2 separate regions of the Homo sapiens genome follow, and region 1 is linked to region 2. The links are contacts of gene promoters, found by promoter capture Hi-C in blood cells and fetal thymus (Javierre and others, 2016). All regions are on one chromosome and are shown on one strand. Each heading gives the region's core, a stretch centred on a gene start or on the middle of the fragment in contact. The rest is flanking DNA. Distances are from core to core; before and after follow the strand shown.

Region 1 (7,610 bases), core at 3,946-6,445, 540 kb before region 2:
ACCAAAGCCTAGCCTAGCCTACATGGCCTTTTTGGATGGCAAATAGCATATACAGCATGTATATGCTGTATCCAACATTCCCATCAGTATTCTGCCCAAGGTGGGAAGGACAGGATGCCTCTCAGAAAAGCACACAATTTAAAAATTAATAACTCTGAGATTGTGGTTAACCATGGTTGCAGATAAGGGGATATTACTATATTGTTATTTGACTATACTTACTTGTGAAGCGATGTGTGACTATCTCATAAACATCATCTTATAATTCGTACATACAGAAGTTGGAAATACAAAATGCTATGTCTGAAATCCAATCAAGATGTAGGTAGTAATTGCTAAATAACATGCTAATTTTAGAAATAAAAATTACAGTGAAGGCAAATATCTAAAATGGACCATAAAAATTGATCAGTAACTGAGACTGAAAGCAGCACTGCCAAGTCACAATAGGATCCTGAATTATACTTAATCTGGTTCTGTGTCTGTAATACAGACCATCTTTTTTTTTTTTTAATGTCACTTTGAATACGTTGAAGTCAGGTAAATTCTAGAAAATAAACGAGTACTAAAAAAACAAAAACAAAACCAAAGGATAATTAGGATAATGCCTTTATTAACGAGAATGAAACGTTCATTCCTCCTTCCACTCCTTCTCGTTGGTTTTCTGGACACAGCTCACCTGATCCTGCTAATTAAAGGGTATGATTACTCCAAAGGATACAAGAATCAGAGTTACCAAATTCTCAAACATAACATTATATAACTGTCAAGTGAACTAATACCAAAGAAATCTTATTAATCGGCCTGGCGCAGTGGCTCACGCCTGCAATCCCAGCACTTTGGGAGGCCAAGGAGGGCGGATCACAGGGTCAGGAGATCAAGACCACCCTGGCTAACATGGTGAAACTCTGTCTCTACTAAAAAATACAAAAAAAAATTAGCCAGGCGTGTGTGGCGGGCGCCTGCAGTCCCAGCTACTCGGGAGGCTGAGGCAGGAGAATGGCGTGAACCCAGGAGGCGGAGCTTGCGGTGAGCCAAGACTGTGCACCACTGCTCCAGCCTGGGCGACAGAGCAAGACTCCGTCTCAAAAAAAAAAAAAAAAATCTTTTAATGAATGAAAGAACATGGCATTAATTGTAATTAACAGGCAGGGCGGAGTGGCTCAAGCCTGTAATCCCAGCACTTTGGGAGGCCAAGGTGGACAGATCACCTGAGGTCAGGAGTTTGAGACCAGCCTGACCAACATGGTCAAACCCTGTCTCTACTAAAAATACAAAATGAGCCGGGCGTGGCAGAACATGCCTGTAATCCCAGCTACTTGGAAGGCTGAGGCAGGAGAATCGCTTGAACCCAGGAGGTGGAGGTTGCAGTGAGTCAAAATCATGCCAGTGCACTACAGCCTGGGCAAAAGGAGCGAAACTCCATCTCAAAAAATAAAAAATTAATGGTTCCCACATTAGTATTGTTATTTTTGTACCACCCAAGGGCCTTTCTGAAGACAGTTTAACAGACTAAGAATCATTTAACTTACCTAGAAACGTTGTCAGTCTGCTTGTGGCTTCCCTCCTTGATTGACTCACGCTGTGTGATGTCTTGAGAAGTATCTATCCACCTGTAACAAAAAATGTTAACTTGCTCACTGCAGCCTCAACCTCCCAGGATCAAGCGATCCCTCCCACCTCAGCCTCCAAGGGAGCTGGGACCACAGGCACACACCACCACACCTGGCTATATTTTTTTCTGTAGAGACATGGTCTCACTATTTTGCCCAGGCTGGGCTCAAGCAATCCTCCCACTTCTGCCTCCCAAAGTGCTAGGAATATAGGTGTAAAGCCACCATGCCTGACCTTCTCCTACATTTTCTTAAGTAAAAAAAGAATCATGGAGTTTTAGATGGAGTCTAAAATTGAATTGAATATTGACAATATGGCCTATTCCCCTTAAGTCAAGTTTTCTTTTCTGTTCTTCTATGACCGTTATATAACCATCCACTTTTTAAAAATTCTATTGTTTGACATTTTTATAATGCCTCTCACTTGCTTTCTCACATACATCCCTAATTTCCAAACAAAAATAAAGGGATATTATCTTAGAAACGGTAAACATCTCAAATATCGAAGTTTCACTCCACATATCTAAATGAAATTATTTAAATCAAACTCAAAAGCCTGTAGGGGTTAAGATTTCTAAAGGAAACTTACTTCATGTGAATGAGCACTCCAATATCAGCCAACATCAATCATTCTTACCTAAAGAATAATAAGAAAAAGTTAATATAAAAGACAAGGGTATAAAATAAAGGTTTGAAAATGCTAGTCAACTTCAAAATTTAAAGAGTAAAAATCCAGAGATAAAGATTGGGGGTAAGTTACAGCATAAAAAAATAGGAAGAAACTTCATGGTGGGGGGGAAATCTAAAATTATTCTTACATAAAATAAGTAGACACCTGAATTAGAATGAAAACTGTATTTTCTTTAAAATGTAAAAGCCTGACTCTCAGTTTCACCAGTCTGAGCACAAGTTTGACTGCAACCCAAAATATACTATCCCTTATGTGAAGGTATGTGACAACGTTGACCTCACCAAATGAGTTTTAACATCAGCTCTTTTTTCATATGAAAGCACATACCCTGCTCCCCATTCAAGTATGTCTTCCATTGTCAGGCAGGCTGACCACCTTCAGCAGGAGTCCTCCAAGAGTGCCCAACTCCCCTTCCCACAGTACACAACGCTGTAGTTGTTGTCCTGCAATCCTTTGTATTTACCTCATTCTTTCCCATCTAAGTCCTCACTGAGTTTTAAAGTTAGGGCTGGAAAAGCTATGCCTTACTGGGACAGCAAGGAACCAATTTTTTTCTGAGGGAGAAGACATTCACCTTCACTATATGCCTGGCAGGGCCACAGTGCACAAAACAAAGATCAGCCTTCATTCAAGTTCCAGGTTTTTCTTCCTCCCTGAATGATTACTGCAAAGGGTATATGAAGTAAGAGTTCCCTGTTGCACATGTACCATCCATAAGGGATACTATATCGTTTTGCATTCTTCCCCCCATTCTCCACATTGTCCTATCTTAAGTCCAAGCCCTTTTCACTCTCAAAAAAAAAAAAAAAAATATTTTTTTCAGCACTGGTGTTCAAAAGCAACGTTTTTATGGTTAATGGTTTACCAGCAACTGTTGAGATTTCCAGTTGAGTCTTAAAAATTGCCAATCATTATCTAGCAGCAATGACAGATGATTAGGAGCAGTCAAATCCTCTGAATTCTTTCCCTAATAGGCAGCCATTTGAGAACTGCACTAGCTGACATCACTAAAACATTATCAGCTAAAGCCAAAACCAAATAAAGGCCCAGACCAACATCCTGGCTCTCTAAAACCTGTCCAAAATCATTAAGTGAAAGGCAGTAAATGCAGGACTGTGGATCATGTCACTGCAGCTGACAATGATTAACAATAGGAGACATGCAACCCCCATTAAGGTTAAAAGTCCAAAACTAGTCACACGCATCTCTTTATTGGGGAAAAGTGAGACTATTATGCATTCTTGGTAGGTTTGCAACCTTGCATGAAGAGCACCCATTGCATTTCTTTCATCTTTCAGAAAGCACCGGTATCTGTTCCAAGGGCCTAACAGTACGAAAATACATTCTGGCATCACACCTCTGAACCCAAGACTGTTCTCATTAAAAATAATTTTGGTTTGTAACAAAATTATGAAATACAATGCAAGCACCTCGGTATAGCATTATTACTGAAACCACTTAATTCCCAGCTTTTTGAGTTTTTTAAAAAAACCCACTGCACTAAGATTCACAATTCATTGCTACATACAAATTAAAGCTAGTAAGAACACACTAACGTCACAAGTTTCTCATTCTAAAGTGCAAAAGCCTAATCATCTGAAAGTGAACAGGGTAAGGCAAAATTAACCCCCCACCCCAATAAAGTTCCTGAAGTCCATATATTATATACCAAGTACATTCTCTAAAAATTGTTACTGACTGGTAAGAAATAGACCTGAGTTTTTATTTCTAACACCCAATCACTAAACCACGGCAGCAAGCACTGGCCACCGATTTAATGGATTACGACACAGGAAACCCCATCAGGGTTCTATGTAATTTAGTGATACTCATGTCACTAATATTGAGCATTATACTTGATCTGCATTATATTGTTGATATGCAGAGGCTAAACTAGTCATCATTTGCTCTTTCATCTATCAGTAGAGTCCAAAGTTGTTTGCTTGAATGGACTACATGTTAAAGTACAAGTCTGTCCCCACCTTGTGAATTGCTTGCCAACGAGCAAGCTTTTTCTTGATACACAGAAGAAAAGTCTCATAGTCATGAAGTTTTCATCAGCATTTATGCAAAGTAAACCACTTTCCAGTTACAGAGCAGAAACATTATACATGAAAACTGTCTCTCATGCATGCTAGCTAAAACCAGTTCAGAGACCAAGAAGTTGAAGTGAGGTCTGGAACAACAGTTGATGCAAAGTCCTAAGCAACAAAAGTTGTGCTTTTGAAGACTTAGGTTTTCTTGTAAACATTTTGGACTATAACATCACATCCCTAAAGCTAAGGGAACCAAATTCAAAAAGCTACTCTGAACATATGCAGTCATCCTACAGAAACGACGATGTCTTATGATTGGGAATGATTCCCAACATGTATTCGACTGTAGTCAAGTCAATGTTCCACACCACCTTCCCCCAGGTTTAGAGTATAGACACATTTAGACAAGTCCCATAACTTGAACTATTCACATTAGATTCCCATCTAAGCCCAAGTTAGTAACAATGGTGTTTTCATGAAGCCCATGTTTTTAAAAATTTTAAATCGCATTACAAAAAAACCTGTACTTTTAGTTCAACTCAACTTGTAGAATTACCAAGATTGCATAATGAAATTACTGATATTGCCGATCTATGGGCAGGTCAGTTTGCTACAATAGAGACTAATTATCACATGCTATACGGTCCATGTCAAGGTGCTAAAAGCACCCTAGTTCCCAAGTATAGTTTAGTTCCCTCTCCCCCACACCACTGATGTGTTCCATGTTATCTTCAGTTACAATGCAACTAAAGGAAACCACACAACTGAGTCAGATATACCAAAGAATCAAGTTTGCACTTTTTATCTGAGAACTGCAACAGCACTGAATTCTGCCTGACAAATTACAGCTCTAACCCCACACCCACACAGTTTTGATGTAAGCTAGCTTTACCATACAAGTGTTAGGTGCTGCACTGTAATTTCATTGTCAGAAATGTGATGCCAGAATGCCCACGGAATAAAAGTACATACAAGTCACCAAGTTAGATTATATTGCTTGTTACCTACCTGTATGCAGTCGGCAATGAGAATCTTGGAGCAAGCAGGAATACTACATCCGGGTCCTAATGTCCATTGCCATTTGCGGTACTACGTTCCTCACAGTTACGCACTGCAGAAATGCTGGCTAAATGCAGTTATGTAGCAGGCCACTACTTTAATAGTGCATAATTGCAGTCCAAGAACACCAGAAAACATTCCGCCACAACTTAGTGGCTTGCCCAAGAAAAGCCAAGTATCTAAATTTTAATCTGCCATAATATGCCACTTAAAAATTGCACAGGCGTAACATTACAATTTCCCCATTTTTTAGCTGTTTATATTAGTGGTACAATACATCTATAAAGAGTGGTGGGGTTTGTAGTACTTCTTATGAGTTTAATGTTCTAAGCAAAGAGGATTATGGTTTCACTAACATGAGCCAATGGGCTATGCTTATAAAATACCTATTAAATACACTGGGGTCTTAACAATATGCAGTTTTTAAAGATTAGGAGAAGTATAAAAAACAACCAGTGTTCCTCTTAAAACAAAATTATGAGAAAGTGGAGAAGAGGAAATGGGGACAAGTGGTTTCTTTAAATGAAAAAAATGGCTAAAATACTTCAAAAATTGCTACCTCCCCTTTCCCACCCCAAGTTTCAGATCGACTTTTAGGAAACTATTAAGATTATTTAAATTCACATTAGGCTAAAAACTATCATATATACATTGAAGACTTATTGAAAGTCTATTTGAGTAAGCTTACAACCCTGAGTACATTGCTGTTTTAGTGATGAAAGTCAAATGTCATTTGAAACTAAGCAACATTATTTGCTAAACAACGTTTAGCAACTCTACAGTCCACAGTAAGGGTATCAAAAGCCACAACTTTCAGGAGATTATCCATTAGCATCCTTCACCACTCTTCAAAGGTACAGTACTACCAAAAGCTTATTTTAGGGGGTCTGTGCCAGCATCCCTTATAAAGAAAGGCATGTAATCTGAAAAATAAACTGAAACATTAATTTTATAGGCAGATTTTCCCATTTCCCGACCAGCCCCCACCCACACACATTCAAAGTTCACCCTCTGTGGGTGTCCCATGGAACACCCCTTATTTTCTTGTCTTTAGTAGAGTCCCTACTATATAATTCAACCAAACTGTAATGGATTCCTTTCTAATCAAGACCCTTGTTTCCGTACAGAAAATCTCTTATGTATCACCAATTAATAACCTGTTTGGGGACAAAACTTCCTCACTGATATAATCATGGTAAAACTACTCATATTTCCGAGTGTGCTGGTGAATGATATAATGAGCATTACTTTCTAATGAGATTCTCTCCCTTAGCACACCATGTACCTGTCAGTCATACAACCAGTATTTGGTGAGATGCTTTTATACACTAGTGTTTACTTTCAGCATTATCCTGTTTCCTATGCAGAAAGTGCTCAGATTGTTCCAACAATAGGTCTCCTTTTGTACACAGGCACAATACTAAACTTCAGCATGTTAATAAAGGTTTGACTTAGAATTTTTCTTTTGCCAATTAGCACCAAGAAAAGAGGTGAAAAGGAGGAAGACACATTCCATAGTAAGAATTCTACAATGTACAGATTTGAATGGAACGTAACTCAGAACAAAGCCAAACCATTCAATTACTTTACCTACTGTTAGGAAGCTGTTCCTCTAACATATTTACACTGGGAAATCAGGCTCCCATTATACTAACAGGCAACAATAAACAATCTACTTTAATAGTCAAAGTCTCTTGTTCTAATGGAAGGGGGTTCAATGAAGTTGACAATTAACTGACAACACCATGGAAACATTCCAAGCCTTTATGGTGGGAGGAAGGGATATTTGTACTGTGTAGCATGAGCAACTTTCTCCAGATTTAGTGCTACATGAAAACGAAACTATGTGAAAACAAGTTAAATTTACAATAAGAATGATTATCTGCAACCCTATTTGTTAACAATCACCACTAGCTCTTAGAAGAGAACCAATAGATTTTTATAGTCCTATAGATTTTGCCCAACAGAAGTAGCACAAGGAGATGTAAAAGTTACAGAGTACAAATGTATATATAACTAAACCTACTTCAGTACTAAACCTTTTTTTTTTTTTGAGACAGAGTCTCGCTCTGTTGTCCAGGCTGGAGTGCAGTGGCAGTCTCAGCTCACTGCAACCTCCATCTCCAGGTTCAAGCAATTCTCCTGGCTCAGCCTCCCGAGTAGCTGGGATTACAGGCGCCTGCCACCACGCCCAGCTAATTTTTTGTATTT
Region 2 (7,559 bases), core at 3,760-6,259:
TGTAATTTTCTGCCCCAGTTTATTCATCTTGGGTTGGTCCAGAAGCCGGGTTTATACACTCAATATGCAAGAGCTACAGACAAAAAGTCTTCAGGGCCCACCCCTCACCCCCACTCTCTGGATCTTTCACCCATCCACCTGTCAGGGATGAAACTCTTTAGAGATAGGAAGAGCCCCCCACTTTGCCGATAGGGAGACTGAGGGCCAGAGGCTGCATCAGTGACTTCCATGCCACTGTTCACCCACCAGTGTCCCCTCTTCATACCACTGCTCACCCACCAGGATCTTGCATTCTCTTGGCTCCCAAGAACAAAGCAGAGAGCTAAGCTACCTTAGTCGTTGGTTCTCTCCAAGACTCACCCACTCTGTAACTCGCGGAGCCTGCCAATCCCTGTTTGAAGGGCCATGCAGTGAAAGAAGGGGTTAAAATTCAGCATCCTAAGCATCTCCAGAGGCTTAGGCTGACACTGTCCCCTTCACATCCCAGAAAGCCAACCTCTGGCTCCTCCTGACAGTCCGACTTCAGAGAAATGAACCAAACCAATTCAACATCCAATGCTGCTAAAGCCAGAGAGGCACAGCAAGGTAGAGGCAGAGACAGGGAAGCGATATTTTCCTCATCGGCCTTGGAACATCTTGTCTGTTACTTGCAAGCTTATAAACATACATTGCTTTTCATCAGAAGCTTAAATGAACACGGTTTGCAACAGCTCCTTTTCCAATGGAGAGATGGTTTGTTTGGGAACTGGTATTTTAGAATTCCCATTCTCCTATTCTTCACAGGGTTCCACTGTTATCATCTTTCCTGTCCCCATCTCCCATGTGCCCAAAGGCAGAGTTCAAGAGGGACAGTCCCCTATGTCCTCTGTCCCCATCCCCACCATCATCTTCATCACTACTCCTGGTTCCCTTTCCTGATACCAGTTCTCCACACACTGCCAAAATTGCAGCCAAAATTCCATGGCAGGCCAGAGCAGCCACTAAACCTCCTACAAGTAAAGCCAACATCAGGGACAATAGCCTCAGCTGAGCAAGTCTGGGTTAAGTGAGGGAAAGGGAAAGGAGAGGTGGCCTGGGAAATCCCAGGAGAATGGGTCAGCCACAACCTTCAGATAAATGACAGCATGCTAGCCCTCTGTCTCCAGGGAACAGTGGGACCCAGTGGAGAAGAAAGGCTGGGGTAGGCCATGAGGAACACAAGGTGTGGGTGGACACCCACAGTGCAGCTGGATATGTATTTGCACACACCTGCTCATGAGTCTGCCTACAAACACACATGCTCCTAACATACACCTCCCATGCCTGTGGCCAAACATGTGCACCCCTGCACACACAAGGGCTTCCTCACATACACCTAATACAAGCCTGCACACTCAAACTCACTCATAGACACACACATCTTCTGCCTATACATCCTCACTCATGCGCATATACACACACTGCTGGGTACCTGTCTACACATGCACATACCGAGTTCCTCATTCTTACATACTACACACACACACATATGTTCACTCTTACATGCTCACATATAGGTCTGCAGATAAATTAGCTGTGTGTACACATGTGCACACAGCACACTTAAGCTCATTTATACATGCTTATTCACACATGCCTACACACACCAGCCTACATGTTAGCACATACACACTCATGCCTACCTGCAATCATGCCAGCAAATTATGTACTTACTAGTGCGCCTCACACATGCCTGCAAATATATACATATACCCTTGCACACTTGTGGAGGCACACCCTTAGGCCTGGTCCTGGGGCCTGGATGGTGCTGCCCTCTGCTGGAGACAGCGAATAAGCTCCTTCCGGTTGTCTAGGATGGTGTCGAAGCTCTCCTGCAGTCGGGCCTGCTGGTCAATCAACTGATGCTGCAGGCCCCGGATCCACTGGAGCAGTGCCAGGCGACGGTACATCACCAAGTGCACGTGGTGCTTTTCCTTCTCCTGCTCTTTGTAGCGCTCCTGGACTTGTAAGTGCTGCACAGCCTGGGCCACTGAGGGCAGAAGGGGATCGGGAGGGCCAGGGCCTCGCGGGGTCCCACAGGCAGGCTCAGGACTGCTGCTACGGCTGTCAATGCTCAGGGAACTGCTGGCATAGCCGTTGTCCTCCAGAGGGGAGCAGACTGTGCCAGCACCACCCATCTTCTCAGGCTCAGCCCCGGGAATCTCTGCCCCCTCTGGGGGGCTGCGCACCCCTTCCTCAGGGGATCCAGGGGCCTGGAAGGCTTGGTTGTCAGAGGGTGACTCAGAGGAGCTCCTCCTCAGGATAGGTTCCACTCTGCCTGGCATCCCATGCCAATTCTCGTTAGCATCCTTGGCACTTGCCATGAAGTTGGAGTTGCTGTCTGGTTGGAGCTCGGGCTGACATAATCCAGGAGGTGGGTCCCCCAGGAATTGGCCCCCCTCAGCTAGCCCTGGCTGGATGGCGAACATCTAGCCTGTAAAGGGAAAGCAGGAGACCGAGTCACAGTAGGACAGGGTGGGGTGCCTGAAGTCAGGGCAACTTAGCTGCAGGGACAAGGCTGCAAGCAAGAGCCTGGCCACTCCCTGTCAAGCCCTTTCTCTTGACTCTGGTAACACTTCCCTTCGTGGTTTTCGTCCTCCCTGTCTACCTGTTCATTCTCAGTCTCCTGCAAAGGGTTTTTCCTCCGTCCTCAGAGCCAGGCTGTCTTCTGATTTTGTGCATTTCTCTCCAGAGGACCTCATTCTCTGCTGTAGCTTCAAAGACCATCATATGCTGGTGACTCTCAGATCTGTCTTCAGCCCAGATCCAACTGCTATCCAACCCTGCAACCAACCATAGTCTCCTCAAATTCTACATAACCAGTCCAGGCATGGTGGCTCATACCTGTAATCCCAGCACTTTGGGAGGCCGAGGCAGGCAGATCACCTGAGGTCAGGAGTTCGAGACTAGACTGGCCAACATGGTGAAACCCCATCTCTACTAAAAATACAAAAATTAGCCAGGCATGGTGACAGGCACCTGTAATCCCAGCTATTTGGGAGGCTGAGGCAGGGGAATCACTTGAACCCAGGAGGCAGAGGTTTCAGTGAGCCGAGATTGCGCCACTGCACTCCAGCCTGGGTGACAGAGTGACATCATCCCCCTCCACCACCGCCCCCCGCCAAAATTCTACATAACCAAACAAGCTCTCCTTCAGTATCCTCAGCAAGATGGCTCTGTACTCCATCCAGAAAGCTGAGAGCATCCTGGGGTCCTCACTATCCTTCCTTCTCCCATCTCATTAATAACCACATTCTGACCATTCTTCCTCTTCCAGGCCATTTCTGACCTGGATTATTGCCTCGGCCTTTTCACTGATCTCTCTGCCTCCAGTTAAAAATGTAAATTTCACTTGTCACCACTCCTAATGCCCTCCCTGAATTCCTGCTAAACCTCTACCTGGCCTACAACACCCTGTTTGATCTGGCCCCTGCTCACCCCTCCATACCTGCCTCTTGCCACTCTGCCCCTCCCATCATAGCAAACTGCCCAGAGATCTCAAAACACACCATTGTTTTTCTTACAGTATTCCTTTGGCCTACAATATCCTTCCTCTCCCCTCCCCTCAAAGCTCCTCCCTTCTCCACCCAGCAAATTCCTTTTTGTACTTCAAAATTAGCTGTAATATCCCCATGTTTCCATGTCCCCATGTCTCTGAAGCCGTCTTGATACTGCCCCAATCAATATTACATAAACAAGCACGGTTAGTTATGCCTTCCTCTGGGTCCCCACTGCGCTGGGTATACACTGTCTTATCCAACTTTGCATCCGTCCCTGGCATACATGGTCGACGATCAGTGAATGTCTATTCAACTGGCATTTTTGGTTTGTGGTAATGATCTTGTAATAGCAGTTTGTAATCTGGCTTGGACCTCCTGTATATATCCTCCATCATATTCCCCAGAGTCAGCCAGCATAGAGCCCTGAACCAGGCTGTCTGTGCATACAGGTACTTGCTAAGTGAGTGAATGGGAGAAGAGACTGCAGTGAATTTCCATGCTCAGGAATCCACTCTTGACTCCCCAGGGCTGGAAGAGCTGGGTTCTGGAAGAGCTGGGTTTGGTTCCCTTTCCTACCCCAGCCAGGGAGCCCCGCCTTCCCCAGTGACAAGCTTTTCTTCTGAGCCTGCCCCCTTCCCTCCCAATGCCTCTGGAACACAGCCACTATCTTGCGGTCCCCGTCCCTAGCTTGCTCCATTCTGAGGCCCTGGAGGGAGGGCATACCACACCACTCTTCTCTCCTCCATAACCTGCTTCTAACCAAAATTAGGATTTGAACTGACAAAGGGATTCTACTGACCAAACAGCACTGGGATTAGAACAATTGAAGAGCATGAAGAGGAAGGGTATTGTAAGTGGAGCCGGCACTGGAAGGCGCTCCATAGGTGGCATGGACCCTCCCCACCCCCAGCAATGGGCAGAGAAGTCCTGGGGAGAAGGGTGTAGGAACAGTTCGTTTCTAATCGCCCTCTAAGCAAGGCTTGTGGGAAGGTGCCTAGAGATCTCCCCTCGCCCCAATTTTTTATTTTTCCTATACTTGGATGGGGCCGTGAAGGAAGCTGGGATGGGGTGGGGGTGGCGCTAGGGATCACAGGGTTCTCAGAGATAGTAAAATGAGAACCCCGACACGCCAGGACTAGGTCTCCGCCCAAACAGGAGGCAGCCTCCTTTTCTGGCCTTGCGGGAGTGGGAGACCACCCCAGGAGACAGAGACCATCCTTCCCTAGTCTCCTCGAAGGAGGCCACTGTGACTCCCCGCTTCCCGCGGCTGAGCCCCAAGCCCCACCCCGCCTCGGGCCCCAGACTCGGACTCACGGCGTAGAGGCGCCCGCTCCGGCGCGTCTGGCTCTGGCTCCGCCCGGCCCTGGTGGTGTCTAGTCCCTGGGCTGGGGGTTCCTCGGCCTGGGCGTCTCCGCGGTCCAGGCGTGGGTGCGGGGCTCCCGGGCAGCGCGCCCAGCCCCAGTCCCGGACTGCGGAGTCAGGCGGCGTCTGCGCAGCAGGGCGGAGCGACCGGTCCCACGTGGGCCGGTTCGGTTTTCCGCGGAGCCCCGCGCCAGGCCCCTGCGCCGGAACCGCTTCGCCCCCGCGCGGGGCCGCGTTGACCCAGGCCTTCCAGGTCCGGTGCTCTCTCCTATTGGCATTCGCTGGGCCCTTCCCATCAGTTAGCCTCGCTGCAGACACCGTGCCATTTTCAAGTGAAATCTGATTAGTCACCACCTTCCGGCGTTAAACTCCTCAATGGCTTCCCCACCGCCGGGACAACCCCTAAGGCGGTAGCCGCGGGGCTCTGTGCGTCCTGCCCTTCGTCTGCCTCTCCGGCTTCGTCCTCTACCCTCCCTCTCCGCAGTTACCCTCCCACACGCCCCTTTCCGCCACGCGGCTTTGGCACGCACTGTTCCCTCGGTCTAGCATTCTCTTCCCCCTCTCGACTTACTCCTATTTCAGATCTCTTCTCGGAGAGATCTCTGACTCCCTAGATCACGTTCGTTCCCCCCTTTATGTCAGAGCACATTCCTTTTCTTCATAGCATTTATCACAATTTGGAATTATATATTCCTTTTTGTGCTTACTTGACTAAAGTCACTGAGGCCGGGTGCGGTGGCTCACGCCTGTAACCCCAGCACTTTGGGAGGCCGAGGCGGGCAGATAACCTGAGGTCAGGAGTTTGAGACCAGCCTGGCCAACATGGTGAAACCCCATCTCTACTAAAAATACAAAAATTAGCCGGGCTTGGTGGCGGGCGCCTGTAATCCCAGCTACTTGGGAGGCTGAGGCAGGAGAATCGCTTGAACCTGGGAGGTGGAGGTTGCAGTGAGCCAAGACTGCACCACTGCACTCCAGTCTGGGCAACAGAGTGGGACTCCGTCTCAAAAAAAAAAAAAAAAAAAAAAAAAAAAAGAGAGAGAGAGAAAGAAGATCCAAGCCTGGGACAGGGCTCAGGGCTGATGTCCTGTACCCGGGACGGGGGCTCTCCGCAGGACACAGAGCCCACCCATGATGCCTGTGAAGTGGGTACCAGTGCTTTTGCCCAGGTGAGGAGGAACAGCGTGATAAAAAAGGGTCTTGGGTTCCAAACTCCAGTGGATTCTTCTCAGAGCTCCACTCTACTGAAGCTTGACCCCCCTCACTCTTTTGCACCCTGGGGAAATGTGAAGTTGGGGGCCCTGTTTGGAATAAAAGAGAACAGAGTTCAGTAATTGCTGACCCTAATATATGAGGTGCCCTCTTCCAGTTTCAATTTGATTCCAAGTCACCATTCTGCAACCTAGAGACTAATTGGCAAATTAAATCACACCAAGAAATCCTATATGCAAAAACAGGGAAAATGGAAAAGAAATTTTTATGATTATGATGACTATTTTAAAAGGGAAAAGGAAATAAGAAGGAGAAGGCAGAAGTAATTCAAACTTTGCACACTCCTCCAGCTAAGAAAATACAGGTGGAGACGTCAGCCCCATTTCTACATCAGATCCTGTGGCCTAAGTCTTCTCCCTTCCCTTATCCACTTCAGGTTCCCCTGGCCTTCAGCCTGGGGTGACCCAAATCCTCACTTTTTTTTTTTTTTTTTTTTTTTTTGAGATGGAGTCTCGCTCTGTCGCCTAGGCTGGAGTGCAGTGGCGCAATCTCGGCTCACCGCAACCTCCACCTCCCGGGTTCAAGCGATTCTCCTGCCTCAGCCTCCTGAGTAGCTGGGATTACAGGTGCATGCATCACGTCAGCTAATTTTTGTATTTTTAGTAGAGATGGGGTTTCACCATGTTGGTCAGGTTGGTCTTGATCTCCTGACCTTGTGATCCACCCACCTCGGCCTCCCAAAGTGCTGGGATTACAGGCGTGAGCCACCATGCCTGGCCCAAATCCTCACTCCTAAAGGCTCTCAGCTTTGGTGATCTAGGGTTATGCAGTTCTGCCCAGACCACAGAGCCATAAAGTCATCAATTGTTTGTTCTGCCCAGAATAGCCCTTCTCCGCCTCTCTTTGGACTCTGTCTCTCCCAGCTTAACCATGTGGGTCAAATGAAAGCCTGAAGAATCCAGGGATAGGAGCTCCACTCCAGGTGAGCCAGTCAGAGTCCTTCTCTGGGATCTTCTGAAACGAAATTAAAGGAAGACGAGGCAGGGAAGAAACAGAGATGAGAGATAGTTCTGATAATGTTGCAGACCCTGTTTCCTGCATCTAAACTTATAGTTTTGTATGCCTTATTTTGCCAAGCCTAACTTGAGTGGAATTTCTTTCACCGACAATTGAAAGAATGCTGATTACTACAATAGCACAAGGTGGTGACCCCAGGGTCTCTGGGTTCCATTCACGCACCTCTCAACACTTATTAGGTAACAGTAACTCCCTTTCTCCTTGGTAGCCATGATCAGTCCAGTCTACACTGAGACCACCCCCTTCTCCTATTCCTCTAGTGCTACCAGGAGCCGAAATCCCAGGGAATCATCTTTGTGTTTCTTGGTTAGAAGAAACATTCCTCCCATGATGCTATCACCATGTTTTGTTTTGTTTTTTTCCCAAGACAGAGTTTCACTGTCACCCAGG

What was found. Contacts are between HindIII fragments. The CHiCAGO score rates a contact against its expected background, and 5 or more counts as called.
Region 1: a fragment that was not itself captured here is called in contact with the fragment with the promoter of C1orf216 in region 2 in 1 of 17 cell types (monocytes); the score reaches 5.6 in monocytes.

What each region holds. Positions count from the first base shown.
Region 1 is chr1:35,175,787-35,183,396 of GRCh38, forward strand. SFPQ (splicing factor proline and glutamine rich) reads right to left here. Exons shown (of 10, transcript NM_005066.3): 10 at 7,150-7,610. Among named protein-coding and RNA genes, the nearest start is that of SFPQ, 14 kb to the right of the region's middle. The HindIII fragment of the contact is 1,769 bases long and covers 4,312-6,080 here.
Region 2 is chr1:35,713,875-35,721,433 of GRCh38, forward strand. C1orf216 (chromosome 1 open reading frame 216) reads right to left here and starts at 5,010. Exons shown (of 2, transcript NM_152374.2): 1 at 4,833-5,010; 2 at 3-2,452. The coding sequence starts at 2,447. The coding sequence ends at 1,758. It also overlaps a transcript of CLSPN not described here. RefSeq lists an enhancer at 1,634-1,928 and silencers at 4,742-5,171, 6,834-7,128. The HindIII fragment of the contact is 2,001 bases long and covers 4,128-6,128 here.